Regions from separate parts of the Homo sapiens genome. Here region 2 is linked to region 1. The links are contacts of gene promoters, found by promoter capture Hi-C in human tissues and cell types (Jung and others, 2019). All regions are on one chromosome and are shown on one strand. The core of a region is centred on a gene start or on the middle of the fragment in contact, and the rest is flanking DNA. Distances in the headings are between cores, read along the strand shown.

Region 1 (6,217 bases), core at 1,708-4,207:
CTCTCCTCAGAAAAATGCAAATACACCTTTACAAACAATTTCAGGGGATTTAAGACTCTATAAGGTCCTTGGACTCCAGGTGAAGAAGCCCTACAGTACAGAAACAATGAAGATTCCTAAGGCATGAGTTAATGTTAATTGATGGAGAAAGACAGCTGAGGTAATAAGAGGAAACCCAGATAAAGATGTATTGCCCCGACACAAGAAAGACAAAAGCAAGGACAGGTGAAGATTTAGACACTTGTAATCCCAATAATCCCAACACTTTGGGAGGCCAAGGCCAGAGGATCACTTGAGCCCAGGAATTTGAGACCAGCCTGGACAACATAGTGAGTTCCTGTATCTACAAAAATTAAAAAATAAATTAGCCAGGCATAGTGGCATCCACCTGTGGTCCCAGCTACTTGGGAGGCTGAGATAGGAGAATCACTTGAGCCCGGGAGGTCAAGGCTGCAATGAGTCATGATCGCACCACTGCACTCCAGCCTGAGCGACAGTGAGATCATGTCTCAAAAAAAAAAGGTAAGTGTCATGGAAATCTGAGGAAGTTTCTGTCTGGTTGAATTTTAATTTTTCAGTGAAACAGGAGCTAAGATTATATAATAAAAAGTATCATCGGTGTTGAGCAAAATATGAAGCACATAATATGTATTCAACAAATTATTGATTTTTTGATAGAATGGAAAATACTGGAGTACTTCAATGGAATTCTGAAATCTGGTTCCACAAAAGCTTACTACAGTTGAGGTGGGTTTTTCTTTTTAAAAATATTGTCTCCAAAAGTGTAGACTTATAGACATTGAAGTAGAAAGGAACTGCCTCACTAACAGAAGGATGTGGAAAACCATACAAGATTTATGAATAATTCTGAGAGAGTATTTTATATAATAAAAATAAGTGGATAAATATTTTGGGAAACAATCAGCAAACTAAATACTGCGAGCAACAATAAAGATTAATCTTAAAAAAAATGTTGAGTAAAGAAGCAAGATGTAAATGAATACTTAGTACAATTCCATTCGAAGTTCAAAAACAAGCCAAACTGTAATGTGCATGTTCACATACAATGATGTGAAACATTAAGGAAAATCAAGGAAGTGGCTATCTTAGAAGTCAGGAGAGTGGCTATCTCTGGGGAGGGAAAGAAATATGTAATCTGAAAAGGTGATAAATAGTAATACCTCTAACTGCCTCTGTGTATGGAGGACTTCAAAACCAAATCGTCCTAAACAAACTAGTCTAAGCAACTCAAAAAGAAGACAGAAAAGATCTCCCAGAGAATCTCTACACCTGATTATATTCTGGGCTACAGGCAGTGATTTTTCTTCAGAAGGTAAACAGTACGCGAGATATTGTGGAAGCTGCCATTAAATAATGCCAAAGTTTAGGATTTAAAATTAATATTTAATTAATGTACCGTCCTAGTTATTTCCCACTAATTAAGACTGAAGAGTTTGGCTCATTAATCAATTAAAATACAAACAAGAATCTGTCTTATCCTGGAAGCAGATTCGAATGCGACATCCTACTTCTATAACTAACCTGTTTTTTTCTACTTACAAACCTATTGTTATTCTACTTATGTCCTTACACGTAAACAAAGTATACTTGAAATGCTGAACACCAGTACAGAAAATTTTAAACAAGGAAATCTCCTAGGATATAAGGTCCTGGAATGGAAGAAGGAAAACGTTGGGACACTATAATCTATGCAAACTTTCCCGAAGCTGCGAAAAAAAAAAAGTGAAAAAAAACCATATTTCTGTGAGTTTTTAGGTATCAAGTCCATGATCACCTAGTTATCCAATTTAAGTCTCAAATAGTTTTTCAACAAAAGCCAGCTTTCCCTGCCTTTACTGTGTATAATTTTTACTAAAATTATCTGAGATTTTCATGCAAATGCCTATGTAATCTCAGCCTTTCACCACCCCAAGTCTAGAAAGAGGCTCAGAAATGAGCGATCGGGAGTCAGGCTGAACTCCCAAATCTGTGACTTCCAAATTCCTCGGCTCCACCAGAGCTTCCAGAGCGTTTCTAAACTGAACAGTCTCCCCAACAACCAAGCGGAGAGCTGCGGGAGGACGCGAAGCAGTGACCATAGGAACTGGGCTCAAACCTAACCTCCCAAGAAACAGGGGCAACTCGTGCTGCCGAGCTTCCGGCCGGCAGCTGTGCCCGCCGCTGCCCCTCACAGCCGCTCCCGCTGCTAGCGCCCAACTCCGCCCGCCACGGCCCCGCACCCGCCACTCCTGCCCGCTTGCAGCCGCCTTCTCAGAGACCTTCCAGTCCAGTAGCAGCACTCTCCCCACCCCGCGCACCTCCGCAGCTTCTACCTGGAGCTCCGGGTCCCTCCCCGGGCTCCTCGGCCCGCCGTCCTGCCCAGAGCTCATCCCCGCGACTGTCAGCTCTCGGCCTCAGCGGGGGATACAAGAACCGCCCACTCTCCATCCTCCGCCCCTTTCTCCTCCCTTCCCACCCCCAAATCGTCCTGGCCCCGCCCCGGCGGATCGGAGGAAGGACGGAGCCCGCGGGAAGGAGGAGGGGGCGGTTAGCGCCAGCCAGTGCCGCCGTGGCCCCGCCCTCACGCTCTGTACCGGAGTGGGGCTCGTCTTCCACCTCCCCGGCGCCCCAGCTTTGCTTCCGTCCCGCTCGCCCCCAGGCCCGGTGCGCACGCGTACCTGGCTCGACCTTCCTTCTCGCGGGGTCTACAAGCCGTGCGCGCGCTCCTACGCACGGAGCGACGCGTACGTCTACCTGCCTGCCTTACAGGGCACCTAGGAGGGACCCCTTCCTGGCCCATCCGCGCCGCGCAGGCGCACGCCCACGCAGCGCCTAGACGCCCGAGCCGAGCGTCCCGTCTCCTAGTAACCAGCCGCTAGCCCCCTTTTCCACGACTCATTTCTTAATCTCTGCCTGAGGCTGCCGCACCTGGATGGAACGCGCATGCGCAAGGCTGTCTCTCGCAGCCCCGCCTTCCCTCAGCTTGAAACACCTGCTGCTTCGCGGCGGTGGCTTTGTGCCACTTTTCCCAGGGCTTGGGCATCATTCTGGACCCATGTTCGGTGAACCGGTTACTCTCAGAGCTGCTTTCGGGCGCAGCTCCTGCTGCAGCCAGGGCCCGTTTTAAGAGAGGCTTCCAGGTCCAGCCCTCCCGCTGCAGCCTGCAGGGAGCGAGCCGGCCTGTCCCGGTGAGCGTGGGCAGCCTGGAGTCAGGGGAGCCTGGGGACCACGGCCTTGGTCAGCTCTGCACGATCAGGGCTGAATCAGGAAGTGGCAGATCTAGCAACAAAGTCCAGATTCCTGACCGATATTCCTTCTCCACATGCCAGTCCTTTTCCAAATCCCCTCACCTTAAAGTGACAAATGAGCTTTTTAGTGAAAAAGAATGAGCGCTGCATTCTTCTACCAATTTTTTGGAGCCCAGAATGGGGGGGAAAAAAGTCTTCTTAATTTTTCTTAATACCTACCATGTCCCTTCTTAAATAACTCAAGAGCTTCTGGATGATAATGGTGACTTTATCTCCTTTTCCTGCAGATGACATAGACACTAGGTTTTTACAGCAATTCTCTGATGACCTTGATATGGTAGAACGCTGTGTATTTCAAGAGTAAGCTCTCGTTTGAGGAGACTAACAATTCCTGTTTTCGCCAGGTGAGTACTCATTTTTCCCCCCACAAGATATCATTGGCAGGGATAAACAACTTTTGTGTAGAACAAATTTAGTCATAAAAATACATTTAATATAAATGCCATGTTTTTCCAATGTCTTTTCATCGTGTTATTACATGGTCTCATATTTTGTCGCATTTATTTTCAGATATCATATACTTTGTAAGTATAATTAGATACCAAAAAAAATTAAGTGTCCCTGTTATTTTAGATTAAGAGGTTAGAGGACACAAGGAGCACATATCCTCGGAAATGTAATTTTTTAAATGCACAAAATAACAAACTGAGAAGTTATGTTAGAGGGAATAATGTATAATCTCATTTCCTCTTCAGATACTAAGATTATTTTGAATACATTATCTAGCATTATTAAAAACAAATAGGAAAGAATGTTCTAAGTTTAAAACTATCAGCTGGAGTTGAAGACTTCGGGGGTGGGGAGATTATTAATATAGGAAGTAGGAAAGTACTTCCCTTATAGAAAGAATAAGAAAAGTTTAAGCACTTATGTATGCCACCTAGACGGTACTGAAGATTATTTGGAAAGAATATAAGGAAATGATCATTTTAAGGCCAAAAGAGGGTGAAAAGATTTTCCTTTTTTTTCCTATCAAGAACTGTTGACTTTCTCCCCTAACCTGAGAAAGTAAAAATTTCCTTCCCTCTGTGGAAACCCAAGGGGTAGTGAGTGTCCCACCCTGCCCCAACTAAACCTTTTTTTTTTTTTTTTTTTTTTTTTTGAGACAGAGTCTCACTCTGTCGCCCAGGCTGGAGTGCAGTGGCACGATCTCGGCTCACTGCAACCTCCGCCTCCCGGGTTCATGCCATTCTCCTGCCTCAGCCTCCCAAGTAGCTAGGACTACAGGCGCCCACTACTACGCCCAGCTTTTTTTTTGTTTGTTTTTTGTTTTTTGTATTTTTAGTAGAGACAGGGTTTCACTGTGTTAGCCAGGATGGTCTTGATCTCCTGACCTCATGATCCACCCGCCTCAGCCTCCCAAAGTGCTGGGATTACAGGTGTGAGCCACTGCGCCCAGACTTTTTTTTTTTTTCCTTTTTTTTAAGACAGAGTCTCACTCTGTTGCCCTGTACCCAGGCTGGAGTGCGTTGGCATGATCTCAGCTCACTGCACCCTCCACCTTTCAGGTTGAAGCAGTTCTCCTGCCTTAGCCCCTTGAGTAGCTGGGACCACAGGTATGTGCCACCATGCCCAGCTAATTTTTGTATGTTTTTGTAGAGATGCGGTTTCACCATGTTGCCCAGGCTGGTCTTGAACTCCTGGACTCAAGTGATCCACCCACCTCAGCATCCCAAGTGCTGGGATTATATGCATGAGCCACTGTGCCTGGCCCAGGCTAAGCCTTATATAGTACCCTGTGCTTGCTCTCTCGTGACAGACACCTTCTAAGGTCTTGGTTTTCTAGTCCCTTAATTTTTCCATCATTTCAAAAGCTTCACTACAAAAACCTCTGTTATTACTATTTTTTGTTTTGTTTTCACTGTCCTCTTCCTGATCCCCTCAAAAAAAAATCTGGGACTCCAATTCCATATGTGTTAAGCCACTTGATCTTGTTCCACAGCTCACTGATGCTGTGTTCCTTTTTTTTGTTTGTTTTTTTGAGATGGAGTCTCGCTTTGTCTCCCAGGCTGGAGTGCAGTGGCGCGATCTCCGCTCACTGGAAGCTCTGCCTCGCGGCTTCACGCCATTCTCCTGCCTCAGCCTCCCGAGCAGCTGGGACTACAGGCGCCCACCACCACGCCCGGCTAATTTTTTTGTATTTTTAGTAGAGACGGGGTTTCACTGTGTTAGCCAGGATGATCTCGATCTCCTGACCTCATGACCTGCCCGCCTCGGCCTCCCAAAGTGCTGGGATTACAGGCATGAGCCACCGCGCCCGGCCTGTGTTCCGTTTTTTAAATCAGAGAGTTTCCTCCTTATGCCGAGGCCTGAAAGTTCCAGGCAATGTCCATTCATAGGGCTCACTTTATTTCCTGTTTCTCAAGGATCACTCTCCCGAACTGCCTGTTGTCCAATATCTAAAAGCCATTGCTTCATGTGTTTTGTGTTTTGATGCTGAAAGCAGGCGGGGCACGGTGGCTCATGCCTGTAATCCAGCTACTCGGGAGGCTGAGGCAGGAGACTTGCTTGAACCCGGGAGGCAGAGGTTGCGGTAAGCCGAGATCGTGCCATCGCCCTCCAGCCTGGGGGACAAGAACAAAACTCTGTCTCAAAAAAAAAAAAAAAAAAAAAAGATGCTGAAAGCATGAGGATAAGTCTGGTCTCTGTTACTCCATCATGACTAGCAGCAGAAGTCTGCCATTCTTCACAGTTCCAGGCCCCATGTCACTAACTATCCTCAAGGGATGTGGTTTGCAATGCAAAAATTGCTTCAGGCTGGGGGAACTGTAAGTGCAAAGGTCCTGAAGCAGGAGAAGGTTTGGCATAGAATATGCTTGAGGAACAGCAATGGGGTGATAGGTCTGGGGTCGAATAAGGCAAAGAGACAGGAGAGAGTGCTTGCTAGTAGAGTTGTTTGCTACGGCTGT
Region 2 (6,312 bases), core at 2,479-4,978, 670 kb before region 1:
GTAGGAATCAAGAGTTTCAGCTGGGCATTGGTCTGCTCCAACAAGGCCTCTTTTTGATCTCCCATGTGACTCCATTTTCTCGTTCTCTCCTGTGGCTGGGCCTGTTTCTGCCTGCCGTGGAGCAGAAGTATGGTCCACATGGGTGGAGACCTACAGGGGCCAAGGAGGGCTGGGCCTTGAAAGTGATGAGCTTGAGTCCCTGTTGGGGTCCGGGGTTGGGGGAAGGGCACAAGGTACACAGCTGGGCTTGACCCAGCCCTGCTCCTGGGAGTTCCCTCAGAGAGTGCCCAGAGCAGAAGAGTCTGTGCTGTGAGCACACCCACGGCAGCGTGCACAGACTCGAGTCCCCCAGCAGATTCTCTTGGCTGCCCTGGATGGAGATAGGGTGAAACTCTGCTGGGGAGAGCACAGTCCAGTGGAGAAGCCAATCTGATGTGGACAGATGAGCTCTGTGGCAAGTGTCCAAGGAACCAGGCTGGTGGTGCAGATGTCTGTCCCCTTCTGCTGAAGTGCTCTCTCTGTCATGCAGCTGTTCTTCATGTGTCCTCTGTCCTCTGGAAGATGACTTCCTGAGGGAGAGGCCACAGCACATATGTCTGTGTCCCCTCCCCTAGCCCCAGCCCAGGGCTCACTGAGGGTCTGTGGTGGGTCTTCAAATCTGTGCATCCTCAGTAGGAAGCATCTGCAGAAAGGAGGAGTGAGGTTTGAGAACCTGATATTCTCCTCTTACAGAAGAGGGCATTGGGGCCCAGAAAGGGCAGTGACTTGCCCAGAGTCTTGCAGCTTAGCTGGGGCATGGCTGGCTGTGGAGTCCAGCCTCCAGGCCTCCCTCTCCATGAGGTGCTCTTTCCTGCTGCCCTGAGCTGCACTTCTGCTTGCCACAGTGTGGGAGTGCCCTAGGCAGGAGAAAGGAGTGTATTGTAGGTGCAGTGTAGAGTGAGGAGGGCAGTGCGGGTGCAGTGTAGAGTGAGGAGGGCAGTGTGGGTGCAGTGAAGAGTGTGGAGGGCAGTGTGGGTGCAGTGAAGAGTGAGGAGGGCAGTGTGGGTGCAGTGGAGAGTGAGGAGGGCAGTGCGGGTGCAGTGTAGAGTGAGGAGGGCAGTGTGGGTGCAGTGAAGAGTGTGGAGGGCAGTGTGGGTGCAGTGGAGAGTGAGGAGGGCAGTGTGGGTGGAGTGGAGAGAGTGGAGGGTAGTGTGGGTGCAGTGGAGAGTGTGGAGGGCAGTGTGGGTGCAGTGTAGAGTGTGGCGGGTAGTGTGGGTGGAGTGGAGAGTGTGGCGGGTAGTGCGGGTGGAGTGGAGAGTGAGGAGGGCAGTGTGGGTGGAGTGGAGAGTGAGGAGGGCAGTGTGAGGACAGTGGAGAGTGAGAAGGGCAGTGTGAGGACAGTGGAGAGTGTTGAGGGCAGTGTGAGGACAGTGGAGAGTGAGGAGGACAGTGTGGGGACAGTGGAGAGTGTTGAGGGCAGTGTGGGTGCAGTTGAGAGTGTGGAGGGCAGTGTAGGTGCAGTGTAGAGGGGCTGACACCGTGTGGTGGGCCACCTGCTTCCCCTCCTTACTCTGGGCACTGGCCATGATGGGTTACAATGTGGTCAGGGCCTCTCAGGAGGTGCCACTCAGTGAGTGACCTCACCCGGGCCAGATGGTGACCATAAGCCGGTTGCTACCTCTGGAGTCTTGGTGGGTGGGCGGATGGCACCCAGGGTCACACAGCATTAAAAAGTGGATCCAGGCCTTTAGTATCTTGATTTTCCACTTCACCAGGTGATTGCATGAAAACATGTTGGAAAGGTAATACATGTGATTGGGGAAGATAAGTTTATTTACTGTGGGACATTTTCATAACTTCTGTTTGAGGGCATTACATATCTCACATAATTACATGCTATGAAGGTATTACCTTTGGTCTCATTCAAAAATTACAAAGTGATATATCGAGAAGAATCACCTCTCCCACTTTGCCTTCCAGTTCCTCTCCCCAGAGGCAAGCAGTTTGCCCAGCATTTTTGTGAGCCCTTCGGGGGCAGTCTGCCATATACAGACATGGACGTTTTCATACCCTCTTTCTTCTGGAGTGTGCATTCGTTTGAGCAGCTTGTTTGGAAAGCTGTATATGCAGGTTGTGAAGTCACTTTTGGTTTTGATTTCAGCCTCCCATTCTTTCCCTTTCTGCATTTGTGGTATCTAATATCACTTTGACAGCCTCAAGAGCGGCCTGTGTGTGTGGGTTTTGGTGTCCATGGTGCAGTGGGCGAGGGCCACCCGCAGCCTTCCCAGTGCTTGGTGAGGCCCAAGAGTGGATTTTGTTTTTTGAAGCAGGATTCTTACACAAAAGGACATCTCTGAAGTAGTTGGGGTTGGGAGCTTGCTTTTTGCTCTATTGTGTTGTCTTCTCTATAATGTGGAATATCTTAAAGATCCAGTTCCACCTGTGCTACGAAGAGCCCTGGGTGGGATGAGCCCACGCTGGCACCACATGGCCGCTCACCCCACAGGCATTATGGGGAGAGCCAGAGCAGGTGAATGGCCTGCCCGGGCCCTCCTGCTTGGTGAGTGACAGACAAGACCCAAACCAGGCTTCTGGCCCTAGCCCTGGGCCTTTGTTGTACCTTGATGCCCTGGGAGGCAGCAGACCCATCTCACCTGGGTGCCATCACCCTGACATTTGGCAGCCTCTCTTTGCAGATTGCCATCAGCATCAGCCTAAGTGAGGTGCAGGAATTTCATAGTTACAGGTTGGTGTTTTTTAAAAAAATTCTATTTCATGGATAAAAACATCTTCAAATAAGTTTTCTTATGCACCAAACCCATCTGGGGCCCTGGGGGATACAAAAGTTATTTTTAATTAATCACTTAATAAAAGCTTATTTGGGGCTCCTGCAGTGGCTCAGCTTTGTTAAAGATGAAGAGTTAAAGATGACTTAGGCCCTTCTCCTAAGGAGCTACAGGAGACAAGGGTGTACACTGTATCAGAAGTTTTTTTTCTTTGTGGCAACAGAAAGGGCCATGTCACAATAAGCAGAGGGTATTTATTTCTGTCTGGAAGTGGGTGAAACTTTACAGGGAAATTGCTGTTTAAATTGGTCATGTAGCATGAGTACAAATTGTCAAGCAGACAAGAACAGGAGGGGCACTCTTAAGTGGAGCGGACAGCTGAGCAAAGGCATAGAGAGGGCACTTGTGAGATGCTGTCGGGAGCAGCTTGTGAGTGTGGTACTTAGGAAGCTTGGGAGACAGAGGAGGGCCAGGAGATCCATCCTGGGTGCAACTTCATGCTGCATTCTGTGTGTGCCGAGAGCCACAGAGGGGATTTAAGCCAGGGAGTTATTAGCCCATTAGATTTACAAATTAAGAGAGACCTCTAAAACCCCATGGGCGGTGTTTCAAGTTCTGAGGTCATCTTTCTTTCTCAGCTATTTAAATTTGTCTCTTGACCAACCAGGATGACAGATGAGGTAGGAGAGGGAGCATAAGCCTTGGAGGAAAGCAAAACTATGGGTAACACAGAAGTAGTCAGAATATAGTGCAAAATACATTTAATCTGGCTGAAATTACTTGTAAAATTTAGCAGGACATTGAACATTTACAGATACTTTGTTTTTTTGCTTTAGGCGTCAGTATTACATTGCATGACCAACAATGGTTGTAGTCTCCTGCTGTTTGCTGGGGCATGCTGGGCTGTGTGGGCAGGGCTGGGGTTCAGCCACCCTCTCCCTTCTACCTGCTTTTCTCACCTGGGGTGGGGGCTTTGGGAGGAGGGGAGCAGTACTACCCATAGTGGGCAGGGATGGGCCTCTGGGGCGGGGGGAGCCTGTGTGTCCACCTTGCCTGCCACTAATTTTAAATAACAGTGTGGAATGCTGTTATAATGGTTTTTATTTTAAATTTTTTTCCACAAATGCACTATCTTCTCATTTTTTTATCAAGGCTAATCTACAAATGTTTAATCCACCCACAGGTAATCCAGATTTGATGCAGAATTTTACTGAAATCAACTCCAAATAGCTTTGTGGTAACAAGTCTTTGCAATGTGATTTTGCCTATGTTTTTCTCCTTAATGAGTCAGACTTGCCACATGAAATTTTTACCATCCCAAAACTTTTTGAAGAATTTAATTAGAATGGGTACATAGGATAATGAAGATTCACATTGTAGAAACTTTTAAAATTTGAGTTTCGATTGTTCCTGGAATTTTAATTTCTCTTATTTGGTGCTAGGTGATTCCCAGTTTTAGGGCCAGGTGTTGCCAGGACACACAAGCCAGTGATAGTTTGACTAAGCTTTAGGGTTGTATATTAAAGTAATGCCTGGCTGGATGCCCAGTCAAACTAAGACATGCTAAGCTCCACATTTGAGCAGTAATGGCCCTGTTTGCTGTCCCTCGGGAGGGTTCACACCCAGGAGCTCAGAGCAGGGACTTTCTCCTCCAGGGTGGGCCCCTCGCTCTGGGGAAGAGCTCTCCTTCACCAAGCCCCCTTTAGGTATCTGGTCTCCAGCCACAGTCAGGGAGGCTCTCAGCTGGGGTGCTGGGACCCAGCCCTGGGGTGTGTGTGGGGAGGAGCCCTGCTTGGGGGAGGGGTGGCGCTCCTGGAGACCTCTCCTGGCTCAGAGGGGAGTGATGGGCATTCTGAAGCGTGTCCAGCAGGGCCCACCTCCCTCTGCGCTCATGGTTTCCACAGTGGTTTGCCTCATTCACCATCACCTGAGAATGGCCAAGATAGCCTTGCCTCCCTTCCTGTCTTCCAGAAATTCTCATGGGGCCCTCCAGCCCGTTCTCTTCCTGGCCTGTGACGATAGCGGGTTAAGTTTGTACTTTTAACAGTAATTAACCTTCTTCAAGGCCTTGTTTGCCGTTATAAGTGTTCCCTGTTCTCTGGGTACTCACAGCCCCTTCCTTGCTGTCCTTGATCCAGCGGCATGGCCTGAGTGCCTCCATCCCCCTGTTTCTGGATGGCTAGAAGAGCCTCTGGGGTATCTGATTGTCAGATGGGCTTAGCAGGAGTGGTAGTAGTAATAGTGGCAAATACTTAAGTAGCATTTTTGTGCACTGGGCACATTTAGAGGGATTAAGTCATCTGATTCTTGCAGTAACCCCATGAAGTAGATGATTCTGTAACACCCATTTCAGGAGCAGGAGACTGAGGAGCAGAAGGTGAAATGAGTTCTCCCTGGGGACGTGTAGCGTGGCGGGTGAGCGGCAGTTGGGGTTGGAGCCCGGATGGTCTGGCTCTGGGGCCATGCACAGCATGCTGTGTGCAGCTCCCCCGCCGTCCCGTCTCCCTGAGCTGCCTGCTTCAGGCACGCTTCTTGGCTCTTTGTCCTGAATGGTGTGGTGGTACAGCTTGGTCTTCCTGCCTGGTAGGGAAACCATAGCCATGGGAGTCCTAGTACTGAGCAAGTGACTGTTCCTGACCCGTTTCCAGATTCTAGGGGCAGCTTTACAGCCTTTCTCTGAGATACTTGGACACCATGTTACCAGACCACAGCCTAACAACAGAGGATGAACCAGAGCCTCAATGTCGGCGAGTCTTGGGCCATTTTGGCTGTTGATTGCCTCTCTCCTGCCCTGTATCTCCAGGAACTGTCAACGTTGGTCTTGTAGAAACTGCTCTCTCTTTGTGAGTGAACAAGACCATGGCTGTCTCAGTCCCTCCGTTAGTGACTATCCTTGTTCAACCCAGAGTCCAGGAGTCTGATGAACAGAGGCTTTCTCCCTCTACCTCACCCTGCCTTTTACCTCTCCCTGCCCTGTGTGGGTCTTGCCCAGGAGACAGCGGTTGGATGAGGGAGGAGAGGCTAAGGGCCCCTCTAATGTGGACAGCCTGGGCCCTGCTGTGGGAAGAGAGCCACATGGCATGGATTGGAAATGGAGAGGGCAGAATTTGAGTCAGGAGGACCACCAGCAGCCGTGCTAGCTCTTGAGGCCTAGGTCTTCTGGCCTTTAAAATGGGACTGGAGTGGGAGGTGGATTCAGTGCGAGTGCAGTCCCTGCGGCCTACAACCTACTGTTATTGTGCGGTGCTGGTCTCCAAACTCCAGGTCTATTTTGTAGCCTATTGAGGAACTGCCTCTGATCTCCCTAAAATAGGATGTGCTATTTTGGACACTGCCGTAGGTGGGAGGGATGTGTGTTTAAAGCTAAAATAGAGCGCACTTTAATTTGCGGGTGTTTCCTTTTTCTTTCTCAGCCACACTGTGTTTAAGTCACAGTGTCCTCCCTCCCACCCAGGAGCACAGCCTCAGGCAGGCCCTGCTCTTGGTGGAGGCCTCGTCATGACTGATGAGGGAGGTGGCCACCAGAGAGGAGGATTCCTGTCGCTTG

Evidence for each region. Contacts are between HindIII fragments. The study calls those that stand out against the background at their distance.
Region 2: a fragment that was not itself captured here is called in contact with the fragment with the promoter of C2orf15 in region 1 in 1 of the 25 tissues and cell types used here (dorsolateral prefrontal cortex).

Annotation. Positions count from the first base shown.
Region 1 is chr2:99,138,750-99,144,966 of GRCh38, forward strand. C2orf15 (chromosome 2 open reading frame 15) reads left to right here and starts at 2,958. Exons shown (of 4, transcript NM_144706.4): 1 at 2,958-3,188; 2 at 3,536-3,652. All of the region lies in intron 1 of TSGA10 (testis specific 10), which reads right to left. RefSeq lists silencers at 2,218-2,287, 2,358-2,667 and an enhancer at 2,889-3,695. The HindIII fragment of the contact is 7,971 bases long and covers 1-6,217 here.
Region 2 is chr2:98,472,027-98,478,338 of GRCh38, forward strand. The region is part of intron 1 of INPP4A (inositol polyphosphate-4-phosphatase type I A); the gene reads left to right. Among named protein-coding and RNA genes, the nearest start is that of INPP4A, 30 kb to the left of the region's middle. The HindIII fragment of the contact is 4,957 bases long and covers 1,251-6,207 here.